Regions from separate parts of the Homo sapiens genome. Here region 2 is linked to region 1. Evidence: promoter capture Hi-C in human tissues and cell types (Jung and others, 2019). All regions are on one chromosome and are shown on one strand. Each heading gives the region's core, a stretch centred on a gene start or on the middle of the fragment in contact. The rest is flanking DNA. Distances are from core to core; before and after follow the strand shown. Region 1 holds the start of GALR1 (galanin receptor 1). Region 2 has its middle 340 kb from the start of LINC01029.

Evidence for each region. Contacts are between HindIII fragments. The study calls those that stand out against the background at their distance.
Region 2: a fragment that was not itself captured here is called in contact with the fragment with the promoter of GALR1 in region 1 in 1 of the 25 tissues and cell types used here (spleen).

What each region holds. Positions count from the first base shown.
Region 1 is chr18:77,245,786-77,252,590 of GRCh38, forward strand. GALR1 (galanin receptor 1) reads left to right here and starts at 4,063. Exons shown (of 3, transcript NM_001480.4): 1 at 4,063-5,429. The coding sequence starts at 4,764. LOC124904329 (a long non-coding RNA gene) reads right to left here and starts at 5,666. Exons shown (of 2, transcript XR_007066422.1): 1 at 5,063-5,666; 2 at 1,924-3,772. RefSeq lists enhancers at 3,699-4,370, 5,042-5,713. The HindIII fragment of the contact is 7,211 bases long and covers 1,357-6,805 here.
Region 2 is chr18:77,653,875-77,660,679 of GRCh38, forward strand. No RefSeq gene overlaps it. Among named protein-coding and RNA genes, the nearest start is that of LINC01029, 340 kb to the right of the region's middle. RefSeq lists an enhancer at 4,401-5,362. The HindIII fragment of the contact is 5,299 bases long and covers 314-5,612 here.

The sequences.
Region 1 (6,805 bases), core at 2,813-5,312:
TAGTGGAAAGGCCTAAGCTATGTCTCTCAGAATTCCAGGAGGAGAGAGTGCCAAGAATGGGGAAAGTAAAAGAGATAATGGCTGAAAATTTTTCCAGAACTGATGAAAAATATATTAATCTTTAGCTTCAGAAGCTCAACAAGAAGGGCTAAAAAATGAAAATCATCACAAACCTATCAAAGTGAAATTATAAAACATCAATGATAAAGAGAAGATATTAGAAATAGAGAAAAAAGTCAGATTATCTCTAAAGGAGTGACAGAAAGCACATCAGCTGATTTCTCAAGAGCAGGAGCAAAATCCAGAAGGTGGAAAAATATCCTCAGTGTACTGGGAGAAAAGAACTGTCCATCTGGCCAACTCCCATTCAATAATAAGAGCCAATGAGCAATTTTTATCATTGACTATCACTAAAGGAAAACTTAAAATATATTCTCTAAAAACAAGGAAAAGGCTTAAGATGAATAGAGGAAGGTGCAGAAAGCCATGGGTAAGAATGTGGGTCACCAAACTGGATATTGCCTGTATCACACAACAAATATGCCGAATTGGGGGGAAATTAAAAGAACTAAACAACTGGGCAACAAAACCAGGTAGAATGACAAAAAGTGACTGGAGTTAGAAGGCTTCCTGAAACTTGTATGGCTTGGGAGAAGGGGAGTGATAACAATTAATTTTAAATTCTATTTAATATTAATAGAATTTTAGTAACTTCTGAATCCATGTCTCCAGCTCTGGTCTCTCTCATTAACTCAAGACTAATCCACCCAACTGCAGTCTTGTCAGTCCCATGTCTAGCAAGCACCTAAAATTTAACTTGATGCTCCACACCTCCAAACCTGTTCCTTCCACTCTTTGTGTCAACTCAGTAAATGGTGATTTCCCATCCAGGCTGTCAGACTAAAACCGTGGTAGTCAACCTTGCTCTCCCTTTTCTCCCACCTTAAATCCATCCACCAACGAATCTCATTTGCTACAACATTGAGATATCCAGAATCCAGGTCCTTCCCACCACACCTAGAACGATCTGTTGTCTGGGTTCCTGCAAGCTTACTGGTTGGTCTTCTGCTCTTTTCTTTGCTCTTCTAATCTGTACTCCAGAATCATCATTCTGAATCGCAGGTCAGAGCATAACATCTCTCTGCTTGAAACTCCCTATAGGACTTCCTCCGAAGTCCAGAATGAAGTCCCAGGCCCCTTCCTTGCTCTCCAAGGTCTGAGGTCATCCATCCCCATTTTCCTGAACCAATGTTTTCTGACCTCGTGGCTGACAAATCTTCTTCCCAGCTGTTTCCATGACAGCAAAACTGTACTCCTCGTTCTTCACACAGCTTCCTCTGCTGCACTGTTTCCCGGGAATGTGTCATGCCACGTGTTTAAAAGGTTTCCTTCTGTACTTCCTTCAGGTTCCTACTCAAATGTCAGTTTTTCAGATGTTTCTCCCTATTGCCCTGTATATAGTTATACTCTCTAACTGCTCTCTATCCCTTATCCTGCATTCTTCTCTTTTAGGGTTGTATTAGGCCATTCTTGCATTGCTATAAAGAAACACCTGAGGCTGGGTACTTTATAAAGAAAAGAGGTTTCATTGGCTCACAGTTCTGCAGGCTGTACAGGAAGCATGGTGCTGGCATCTGCTCAGCTTCTGGGGAGGTCTCAGGAAGCTTCTAATCATGGCAGAAGGTGAAGGGGGAGCAGATACATCTTACATGGCAGGAGCGGAAGCAAGAGAGGGAAGGGAGGAGGTGCCACACACTTTCAAACAACCAGATCTTCAGACTCACTGTCCCGAGGACAGCACCAAGCCATGAGGGATCCACCCCATTGATCCAAACCCTCCCACTGGGCTCCACCTCCAACATTAGGGATTATAATTCAATAAGAGATTTGGCGAGGACAGATATCTAAAGTATATCAGTAGTGTTTACCACATGTGACATTATCATTTTATTTATTTTTAAATGTCGTGTCCATAATGAAATGTAAAATCCATAAAAGAAAGTACTTTGTTGTGTTAATTGCTCTATCTCCAGAACCTACAATAGTTCCTGGCACATAGTAGGCACTCAAGGGTAACCAGTAAAACAATAAATATACACTATATTTCTTCCTTTTCCAAGAATGTGGAGGGAGGGAGAAAACACTTTAAAATGCAATTCAAAAGATGTCATGAAAAGAGAGAGAGAGAGAGAGAGAAAAAGCACAGAAATAGAAAACAAATAAAAAGTACAAAATAAAATGTTAAAAATAAATCCATATAGGTTAGTAATAACAATAAATATAAATGACCTAAACTCACCAGTTAAAAACTAGAGATTTTAAAATTGTGTTTTAAAATAATTCAGTTATGTGCTATATTAAAGAGATACCTTTAAATTGCAGGACATAACATAGGAAGGCTGTAAAAGATGTAACAGGCAAATACAAAGCAAAGAATGTTGTTGTACTTATAGCAATAACAGACAAATTATACTTTAAGGCAAAAACAAACAAAACATGTACCATAATACCAACCACATAATGTTAAAGCAAAAAAAAAAAAAAAAAAAAAAAAAATCACCACAATATATTAAGATCATATGCGTATGCCAAAAATGTATAAAGAAATGACTAATAGACAACAAATTTAGGTTACTTGGAGATAGTGGGAGAGGTGGAGGTTGTGACTGGAAAATATATAAAAGTGACTTCAACTCTAGTGATAATATTTAAAAATTATTCTAAGCTAGATGGTGGGTGCATTGGTATTCAATGTAATTTTATCATATCTGTTTCATGTGAAAATAGTTCATAATTTAAAAACTCTCCCAAATCATATTACTACTAACTTTCAATGCAACAGAGCTGTCAAATACAACATGATACTTTGAAAGCCTGGGTCGGAGAGCGTCTCAGGGAAGAAAAGCAATACGGATTGGCAAGATCACCTGAGGAAGTTTCAAGGCATTCTCTCAGGTCGGGGCAGGTAAGAGCATTCTTGGCTTTAGCAGGATACCCAAATAGGCAAGTTGCTTACACTCAATTTTGTCTTCCAGAAAATGTGTGTGAATAGAACAATTCCCTTGCAAGGAACTCCCTAGCAATGAATGTAGATAAAATACATAGATGTTCAATGAACTGCATCAAGATTTATCTGGAAATGAGGCAGAACAGAGCTAGCAAGGTAGAAAAACAAGATCCTACTTCCTTAACTCCTCAAGGCAAAGAGCCCCTGCCCTCTTTGGTCTTTGGATTACCCATCCCCTCAGGCACTGCGTCCGCGCATAATGGACAGTCACCAGATGGTGAATGCTGGAAACGCATCGGTGTTTTTGAAAGTGAAAACAGACAAATCACCGCAAATAAAGGAATCAGTGTCAGCTCTCTAGCTGGGAACCACCAAGGTTACAAAGCTAACGTGACTGGCCCTGCTATACCGAAACGGCTTAATTTCTTTCTGGCAAATCCACATTTACGGCAGTAAGATACTAAACACTTTCTTTCACTTTAAAAATATTTCGTTTGTCACTGCTGCAGTTTATGTCCCTCAGATGAGTAATACAAGGCAAAAATGAAGTGAGGTTGGGTGGTGTGAACAGCCTTCCCCTTCCATGTCAGCCACGTCTATAGAGAAGCTCACGCGGCCCTTTCCCTTTGCACTTCTCTCCTCTGTAGCAGGCCGCGGGGTGAGGGTGGGATTAGGCGGCCAATTTTACAAAACTCCAGGGAGCGTCGCCAGCCTCGATTTCCTGGGGTTATTCCTGGGAGAGAGGCGTTCTCACGGACAGCCACCCTGGGGAGGAGGAGGAGGAAAGGCACTAATGGATGAGGAGGCCCGCGCACCCCTCCGCCTCCCACCCCGGCGCGCCCTGGAACGCCCTGGAGCGCGCCCGGCTTCCCTCGCCCGCCTGGCCCGCGGCATCCGGCAGCCCCGCCTTCAGCCCGCCGGGCAGGTCCGCACTCCGCAGAGGCGAGCGCGCTCCGGTTCCAGCCGGGAGGTGGGCGGCGACCCATCCCGCTAGAATCCGTCCAGTCTCTGCTCGCGCACCGTGACTTCTAAGGGGCGCGGATTTCAGCCGAGCTGTTTTCGCCTCTCAGTTGCAGCAGAGAAGCCCCTGGCACCCGACTCTATCCACCACCAGGAAGCCTCCCAAAAGAGCTCTCGCCCTGTGGACGACTCGGAATCCCTGGAAAAGCCGGGAGGGAGTCGGAGGCGCCAGCCCACTGGGGAGGTGGCGCTGGGCGCGCGGGATGCGCGGGGAGCCTTCTCTGCAGGAGCCGCACAGTGCACTGCTGCGCGCTGGGCAGTGCGGGGAAGCGCCGCGGGAAGGAGCGGCTCCGAGCAACAGGTGCAGCACGCAGCCCCTCCGGGAGCCAGGGAAAACCGCCGGCGAAGATCTGGAGCGGTAAGGCGGAGAGAAGGGTCTTTCCACCTGCGCGGCTGCAGCCGGCGGATCCCTCTTCCCAGGCTCCGTGGTCGCGCAGCGGGCGGAGGCGCCCGGGAAGGGGACCCCAGTGCTCTCGAGATCACCGTCCCTTCCCGAGAAGGTCCAGCTCCGGGCTCCCGAACCCACCCTCTCTCAGAAGGTCCCGGCGCAAAGACGGTGCCACCAGGCACGGCCACCGGATCCCCGCTCCCGCTGGCTCGCGCCTCGGGGGAAGCTCAGACTCCTAAACTCGCACTCTCCGTGCTTTGCGCCGGGACCCCTGGCCACCCCCGGCGCCTACTATCCCGCCCTCCCTCCCCGCGCGCCCCGCCGCTCGCCGGGACAGCCCCGCGGGCCATGGAGCTGGCGGTCGGGAACCTCAGCGAGGGCAACGCGAGCTGGCCGGAGCCCCCCGCCCCGGAGCCCGGGCCGCTGTTCGGCATCGGCGTGGAGAACTTCGTCACGCTGGTGGTGTTCGGCCTGATCTTCGCGCTGGGTGTGCTGGGCAACAGCCTAGTGATCACCGTGCTGGCGCGCAGCAAGCCGGGCAAGCCGCGGAGCACCACCAACCTGTTCATCCTCAACCTGAGCATCGCCGACCTGGCCTACCTGCTCTTCTGCATCCCCTTCCAGGCCACCGTGTACGCGCTGCCCACCTGGGTGCTGGGCGCCTTCATCTGCAAGTTCATCCACTACTTCTTCACCGTGTCCATGCTGGTGAGCATCTTCACCCTGGCCGCGATGTCCGTGGACCGCTACGTGGCCATCGTGCACTCGCGGCGCTCCTCCTCCCTCAGGGTGTCCCGCAACGCGCTGCTGGGCGTGGGCTGCATCTGGGCGCTGTCCATTGCCATGGCCTCGCCCGTGGCCTACCACCAGGGCCTCTTCCACCCGCGCGCCAGCAACCAGACCTTCTGCTGGGAGCAGTGGCCCGACCCTCGCCACAAGAAGGCCTACGTGGTGTGCACCTTCGTCTTCGGCTACCTGCTGCCGCTCCTGCTCATCTGCTTCTGCTATGCCAAGGTGCACGCCGGTCGCGGGGCCGAGACGCGCGAGGGAGGGCGGAGGGCCGGTGGGGGCCCTGGGGTCTCAGTGTCCCGCGGCCCTGCCGGAGCCTTGGCGGCAGCCTGGCCCCGGTGGTCCCCACTCTGGCGGCGCTGGTACGGATCTGTGCAGAGAGGCTTCCTGGCCGCTGCTGGAGCGTGCCATTGGCTTGCGCAAGAAAGTTACTTGGAGTCTGAGAGATGCTGGGGAAAGTTTGCAGTTCACTTCGCATGGTCCAGTAGAACCAGTTTCTCCTCCCCTCCCCTTCCTCGGCCCTGCGGCCCTTCAACGCCCCCAGGTTGCCTGGGCGGTAGGTAGGCGGGCGCTGCCGCATCCTTCCCGGTACAGCAAACCCCGCTCGGTTCCAGCAACTCTTCAACCAGATCAGCTGCGCGGGGAGGTTACCGCCGCGGCGCTGTGGGACCTGAGGAGAGCTCTGGTGGTCACCAGAGCGCGGACCTTTTGCGAGGGTGACGGGTCCCCACAGCTCCCTCCCGGGCTCTCAGCTGGCCGTGGCGGGGGGGACTCGCGGGGCGGCCCCTCTCCCCCGGGGTGCGCAGTTTGCCCTCGCTCCGAAGGCTTTGCGCACACCGGGCTCTGTGAAGCCGCTGCTCCCGGGGACAGAGCCTCGAATTTTATTTTATTCTGAAGCTTAGCTTTGTAAACCCAAGTGCAAAAGGGTGTTTCTTTACAGAGTCTTGACCGCAGGCTCCAGGAACTTGGAATGGAATGGACTCGAGCTTTCGGCTTCCCCATTTCAATCCTTTTTAGAAAGGTCTCCTGAACAGGGTGAAGTGGTTGAGGCGGCGGGTCTTCACCCTAACTGTAGCAGAGGCACCGTCCACGCGTGTGGGAGATAGTTTTTCCCTTTGTACAGCCGGGCAGAGCTCAGCACTCACATTCTTTTTCTCATTAAGTCCACAAGGGTTTGAAGACTTTATACTGATCAAAACGTCTTCAGCCTTTGACATACGTGTTTTTATTTGCGTAAACGGGAGCTTATTTTAATAATCAGGTGATGGCGATTCACCGGGTAAACCCTAATGTGCGCAACCTCCTCGCTCCAGAGCATCGCCATTTGAAATACAGCTGTTACCAGTTCCACCCGACTTCACCGCTGTCTCTCATTCTGTTTCAATAAGGCTGTGACTATACGACCACAAATAACCTGACTAGGTAGAACAACTATCACTTTTAATACTCAAGTCACAAGGTATTTTTATCAACAAAAGTGTTTACTATAAGCCACCTGTTTCCCCCCACCTATTTCATCTAGGTAGATTGTGTCTATTTTGAATAATAATATTGCTGGATATTATCTGAACGGCCTGCACCAAAAGGTTAAATATGAAGAA
Region 2 (6,805 bases), core at 1,713-4,212, 410 kb after region 1:
CCGCTTTGACACGCTTGGCTGGGGTGTGGGGCTACCATGATTTGACCCTGGCATCTGAAAGGGATCATGTGTCGGGGTCACCCCAGGACCCATGACCTTCCGAGGCTGGGTGACGTGCCCAGGTTCACAGGGAGCCCTGAGAGGTTATTCTCGGTGCCCGAAGCTGAGGTGCACAAACCCCACTGCTACCCAGGCAGGGACAGGTGCCCTGCACAGCGAGGCGTGGATGGAGAAGCATCACCCTCCTAAACATGGGCCCTGTCAAAATCTCTGGGTCTTACATGGTGGGCTGCCTGTCACAAGGCCACGGTGTGGGAGGCACTGCAGAGAAGGGTCAGCTGAATCCCGATATATCAATTAAAAAGCCCTAAGTAAACTGCCCTATCCCAATGCTGCACTGGGAATGTGTGCTTCCATCACTGGCCCCCAAACTGGATTGTATTCTGAGTAAACCTCCCTAGAGTCCCTTCTTTCTCCTCCAACCCTAAGATGAATAAGCACTAAATTCTCCCAGCAGGTGGCAAGAGGCAAAGGCAAGAAGAGGGGCTTCCTGTCCGGTTGTGCCACTGGCACTGACAGATGATGCTACCTCCTGGCTCCGGATGCCCTGGTGCCTTCTGGAGTGGCCCCACTGCTTCGTGAGTTTGGCTGAATCTGTGGGTTGATGAAGAGGCTTCTCTGGCTTTCCTTTTTTTCCACAGTGAGCCGCTCTCCCTCTCATCACACAGGGGAAACTGTGGATACTCCCTGGTTGCCACCAGTTCGGCCCCATTTCCTGACCATCTTACAGTGGCTGGCAGAATAATGCTTCTCCTTCTCCCACCAGAGATGCTCACAACGTCATCCCCAGAAACAATGAATATGATGATGTCAGCTTGCAAAGGGGGTAGAATTAATTATGCTAATAGGCTGGTGTTAATTTAGGGGGATTATCCACATGGACCCAATATACCCATGGGACCCTTTAAACATGGAAAGAGAGGCTGAGGGCTGCAGCCAAAGAGAGATTGAAGATGCCAATCGGTTGCATTGACTGCGCTTCTGGCTGAGGAGTCCAGGTGGCCTCCAGGAGCTGGAGAAGGGGAGGGGCTGGGGGCTCTCCTGAGCCCCCAGAAGGAGCAGCCTGCTGACATCTGAGTACCAGCCCATGAGTTCCATTTCAGACTTCTGGCCTCCATCACGGGAGATCATGCATTTGTGTTGTTTCAGGCCAGCAGGGGTTTGCAGCAGGTGTTCCAGCAGCAGAAGGCAGCAAATGCACCTGCGTTCAGTCAGCGAAGGATGTGGGCTGAAGGCTCTTCCAATGGGCCACTTGGAAGACCAGGGTCTACCATTGAGTTTAGCAGACAAAACGCCAACATTTTGGCCTCATGACCTCTTCCACTTTGTGCTAGAACCATTAAACCCAGAGTCATAAAAATCCTCCGCCTCCACATCCAGTTAAAGCCACTTCCACCTCCACAGCCAGTTAAATCCACCATGGCTTCCCAGCTTGCAGATGCTACTGTCTCACTGTGCCCTCCCTTGGTGGAGAGACAGAGAGAGGGCATGCCCTGGAGTCTCCTATCAGAAAGACACTAACCTCACCCTTCCTTCATGACCTCATCTCACTCTCATCACCTCCCAAAGGATTCATCTCCAAACACCATCATACTGAAGGTTAGGCTTCCATATGCAAATCCTGGGGAGATAATTCAGTCCACAGCATGGCGCATGCCTGGGAAGCCCCTGCAACCCTGGCTCAGTCAGTGGATGAGGCCTCTGTGTCCCTTGTTGACTCTAGTTGATGATGACGCCCTGAGTGCTGCTGTGGGCACTGGCCCTGTGACATTGAGACTGGAGCTAGAGTAGACACATAAAATAGTTTGTGGTGAATGGGCACAAGGGAAGGGGCTCTCTGTGCAACATCCTCAGGGCTTTTCCATGATGAACAATTCCACAACCAGGAGTTCTGTTTGATGAGCAATTTATACCATCCTCAGCATCAGGTGGTTTCCTTCTAGAGAGCTCATGGTTTTTTTTTTGGTGGGGGAACAGGGTTTTGCTTTGTTGTCCAGGCTGGAGGACAGTGGCATGAACATGGCTCACGGCAGACTCAAAGTCCTGGGTTCAAAGGATTCTCCCACCTCAGCCCCTTGACTAACTGGGACAAAAGCACGTGCCACCATGCCTGGCTAAGCTTTTTGTGTATTTTTTGTGGAGACGGGGCCTTACTATGTTGCCCAGGCTGGTCTCAAACTCCTGGGCTCAAGCAATTCTCCCGCCTTGGCCTCCCAAAGTGTTGGGATTAAAGGCATGAGCCACCATGCCTGGCTGCTTATGCTTTTTTCTGTTGTGGCCCAGATATTATATCATCTCTCGTCTATAAATCTTCAAAACTTGAATTTGTGTGTAAAACCTAGTTCTGGGGAGGGTCAGAAAAGACACTCTTACCGGGAACATCCTGATCAGTCAACTGGGGCCTTGAATACCAGGTAACCTTTGACCTCTGCAGGTGCAAGGGCTCTGGGGGTGTGGGTTCCCATTGCTGTTGAGGGCCATTCTGCTTTGGGGGTGCCCTGGTCATATGATGTGGAGACACCATGTAGGACACTTTTCACGGAGGTTCGGAGGAACTGGTTCTTACCAGGGCATTCCTGCAGAATTGCCTCCCCTTGAGGGCCGTCTTAAGCTTCCTAACACCTAACGTGTTGTCTCAGGAGACACATGTGTTGGGATTACACATTCCCCAGCACCTTCTCATCACCTCTGAGAGATGGCAAGGCCTGCCGAGATAGCTCTGAGCACCTTTTAAAATGAATCCATCCTACAGATCATAGGATGACAACATTTCCTCATCTCCATCAGCCATACATGAAGGAAGTACACACTCCCAAATGCAGCACGAGTGACCACTGAACCCCTAAATGCAGCCCAAGCCATCCTGAATTTGGGGTGCTGGTCTGTTTGTGTGCACTTCTTCAGGACACAGTTGTCTACATGGATCTATGTTCCCATTCTTGCAGTGCTGGGGATGGAGCCCCCAGTAGGGGCTGTGGGACTCAGAGATTGTGCTCTTAGTCCCAGGCTCCTGGCACGTTCCTACACATGGATCATTTCAGAAAATGTGCTTTTCTATTAACAGATCTTCTCTAAAGAGTCAGGGCCAGGTGGCTCTATTCACACCACTTGTGTTGTGCACAGCGCATGGTTCATTTATGAAGAGAGAAAGTAATTCTCTTGGTGAGGAGTTTCCTTGTTTTCAATATCCCACAGTATTTCCATAAGCCATACTGAGGAGTGCCTGAAATAGAAAATTTTGATATTTAATTTGGAGCATCCAAGAAGAATTCATTCAGACTAGGAGCCAGAGAAGGTGGTATTATGATCTATTTTATTTTTTCTCCTTAAAATTCCTCTATATTAACATGAATAGATGTGTCTTAATTTTGCAGTAACTATAGATTTTTGAAATTCCTCCACATTAAACATGAATAGAATGTGTCTTAATTTTGCAGTAACTATAGGTTTTTGCTCCTTTATTTGTACATTTCTTCTTTCCCTCTTGCACCTTGAAAGTAGGTCATGGTACCGGTTTCTGGAGGGAAAAGGATCTGGCATTTTATAAGGACAGGATCATGTTAGGTAAGGAATGCAGTCCTAATGACACGAAAGAGGGTAAGCGAAGCCCAGGCTACCCCTCTGGCCAGGAACGCGGGAAAGAGGTTTAAAGGAGGAAGGGATGACTCAGGTGCCCGGGCCTCAGCGCCACTCAGGGAGGCTCTGGGAAGAGCCCAGGTGGAGAAGCCCGGAGCGGCCAGCGCAGATCAGTGCCCCCAGGAAACCACTCAGGAGGCTGCAGACCGCCCTCAGCCACCGTTTCTGGTTTGTGCCGTGGTCGCCTGGAGGCAGAAGCCAGACTGGAGCACAGGAGACAGAGTCCGCGGGCCGCTGGCCTCACCGAGCGCTCTGGGGCCGGCGGAGGGAGGATCCCCCACATGTCTGAAGCCTGGGATCGGGCAGCAGGGCCAGGGACTGAAGGGCTGGCTTCAGACCACACACTGCACACCTGAGCTGGAGGGGCCTCAGCTCAGTAGATTCCACGGGGGCTTGTGGTGGGCTCTGGTGCCCTGCCACTCTGCAGCATCAACGATTAAGGGCCCAGGTGCACAGGGAAGACGCAACACCCGGCGATTCCCTCCTCATCTCCCCATAGCTGCGAAGAAACACAAAGTCACCTCATCTCCCTGACAGGACACACGGAGGAGGCGGCGCTGGGGGAAGGATGGAGACTCAGCACACCCCGAGCTCTGTTTAGGGGAAGATGCCAGAACGCAACTGATGACAGGTTAATCTCCGCCCCCAACACGTTCCGCTCAGATGGCAGAGACTTGAAGCATCAACAGTTCTCTGCCCGTGTTGAAAGCATCTTTCCCTGTCCGTGGGAGGCCTGTAGGCCTGGGTGAGTACCTGCAGGGGAAGGGCTGGATCCGTCACTGCTGTCACTCCTGGGAACACCGTGGTGTCCACAGAAGATGGCATGAGGTTGACTCACTTCAACGCTGGAGCTAGGGGAGCCTAATCCTCCTGGAGCTTTCCGTGGAACGGTGCCAATTGTTTATCAAGAAGTGACGTCACTACCCCTCCAGTTTGAGATCCCTGGAACTGCCTTGCAGGCAGGGGTCAGCACACAGGACATTAATTAGGGAAGTTCCTGCAGTCCACCCCGGGGGAAGGGAGGGAAGGGAAGCATATAGGGCTGGGGAAAGGGACAGGTTGAACTATGATGCAATCTCAAAGGAGGCTCAGCCAAGCCAATGGGGAGCCCCGGGGTGCCCCAAGTTCCAGAAAGGGTCCAATCTGTGTAGCCCCATGCTGGCGGGGGCTGCCCCAGGAAGGCCCAGTGTGAGGAGGGAAGCAGCACCGAAGGAGTTGGGGGACTTCCTGAAGGGGCATCTGGGCAGTGCCTCACGGTCACCACCTCACCAACAGAGAGCAACTGATAGCAGTTTCTGAAGACCAAAGACCCAAGTGCTGTGAGCTCATGCAGAGGGACCTCCCTCCTCCAGATGGCTCAAGTGCTGTGAGCTCATGCAGAGGGACCTCCCTCCTCCAGATGGCTCAAGTGCTGTGAGCTCATGCAGAGGGACCTCCCTCCTGCAGATGGCTGCTGTCCTGCATTGCCTAGTTTCTTCAGTGCCCCTTGATTTCTAAGTCATGGGGTGGAGATGTCTTCCTTACAATCATCTTTCTGTGCAAGTCCTGGGGACAAGCATTACAGCAGATTAAGAGGGATTCAACACATGTGCTATACAAAGGCAGCGGCCAGGTCCCAGCAGCCTAATGTCCTGAAAATTCCCACAGTGCTGCAGCCAGGGGTGTTGACTGTTACCATCTTGCATGGTAATTTGGGCTTCCTGGGAAACACTCTCAGAGGGAGACTTGCATGCCGGAGGTTTACTGAGGATGCTGCTGAGAGAGCACCTTTCAGGGACTGGGGGAAGCAGTTTTGAGCAGAAGAAGGAATTGAGTTGTGAGGTGACCGAGGCCCCTGAGGAGCTCTGAGGCTGGAATGGCCCTTCAGGATGCCCAGCATGAAGCAAAGGCACTACCCATGGATGCTGGGAGGCCTCGTGGGATGCGTTGTGTGGACAGGATGACCCCTCAGCCAAGGGCAACTCTAAGAGACTTAGCTGGCAACTTTGACAGCCATCGCCCGGGAAGCTGAGGGTTAGTGCCTCACTCCTAAGGGAGAATCTGAGTGGTGACCACAACATCCACTTCAGTAATTCCTCTTCCTAGCCAGCTTCTATGGCTGGAAGGAATGGGGATGGTGCTCAGGTCCGGCAGGCTGTGCTTAGAATAAAGCATTTCACTGACAGTCACCTCTGCCCCCTCCTGATTTAAGTCTCAGCTTAGCTCACATTTCTCATCTAAAGCCTCCTCTTTCTGGGTTTCTAGTTCTGTTATATACATATATACATTTTTAAAACTTGCCTTCTAGGAAATGGCCTGAAATCTGCTTGTTTCTATGCTCCTAGACATCTCTAAACACTGATGGGATGGACCCAAGCCTCTGACATAAGTATTTTAATTGTAAAGCCTGGCCTCTTAGTTGTTTCTTTTACGTTTTCTGTCTCTCTGCTTCTCGTCTTGGCCATTCCGGGAGTGTTTTGGTATAACCCCCGACAGCATTCATATGCTCTCCACGGCACACCAGCCAGTCCCTGAAACTGCCTTATCTAATAGGAACAGTCTTCCTCGGTGGTGGAAATAATCTCCCAGTTGTACCTGGAAGTGTTGATGTCTACTCTTCACCATCGCCCAGGTGAATCCTTGATTGAGTCTATCAGTCAGGGCCTTGCTCTCCAACTCCAGGAATGAAGTCATCTTTCCTATCACATTTTTGGTAAGTCAGCCTGTGGGGGTGCTATGCACTTCCAACAAGAGGTGCCTGAGGAGAGGGGAGAGCAAGATAGCAAGATAGAAGCCTTCACCAATCATCACTACAGCAAGAACACCAAATCGAACAACTATCTACACAAAAAAGCAACTTGATGAGAACCAAAAAATCAGGTTAATAATAATAGTACCTGGTTTTAACTTCATATCACTGAAGGAGGCACTGAAGAGGGTCGGAGAAATGGTGTTGAATCACCAACACTGCTCCTTCCCCATCCTCCAGCAGTGGCTGAGCAGACAAAGACACCTGCAAAGCCAAAAATATTTGCTACCTGGCCCATGATAGAAAAGGTTTACTGAATCCTGCTGCAGAGAAATAAATGCAACCAACTTCAATGGTGTTGTGTACAATTTTAAGGTATTC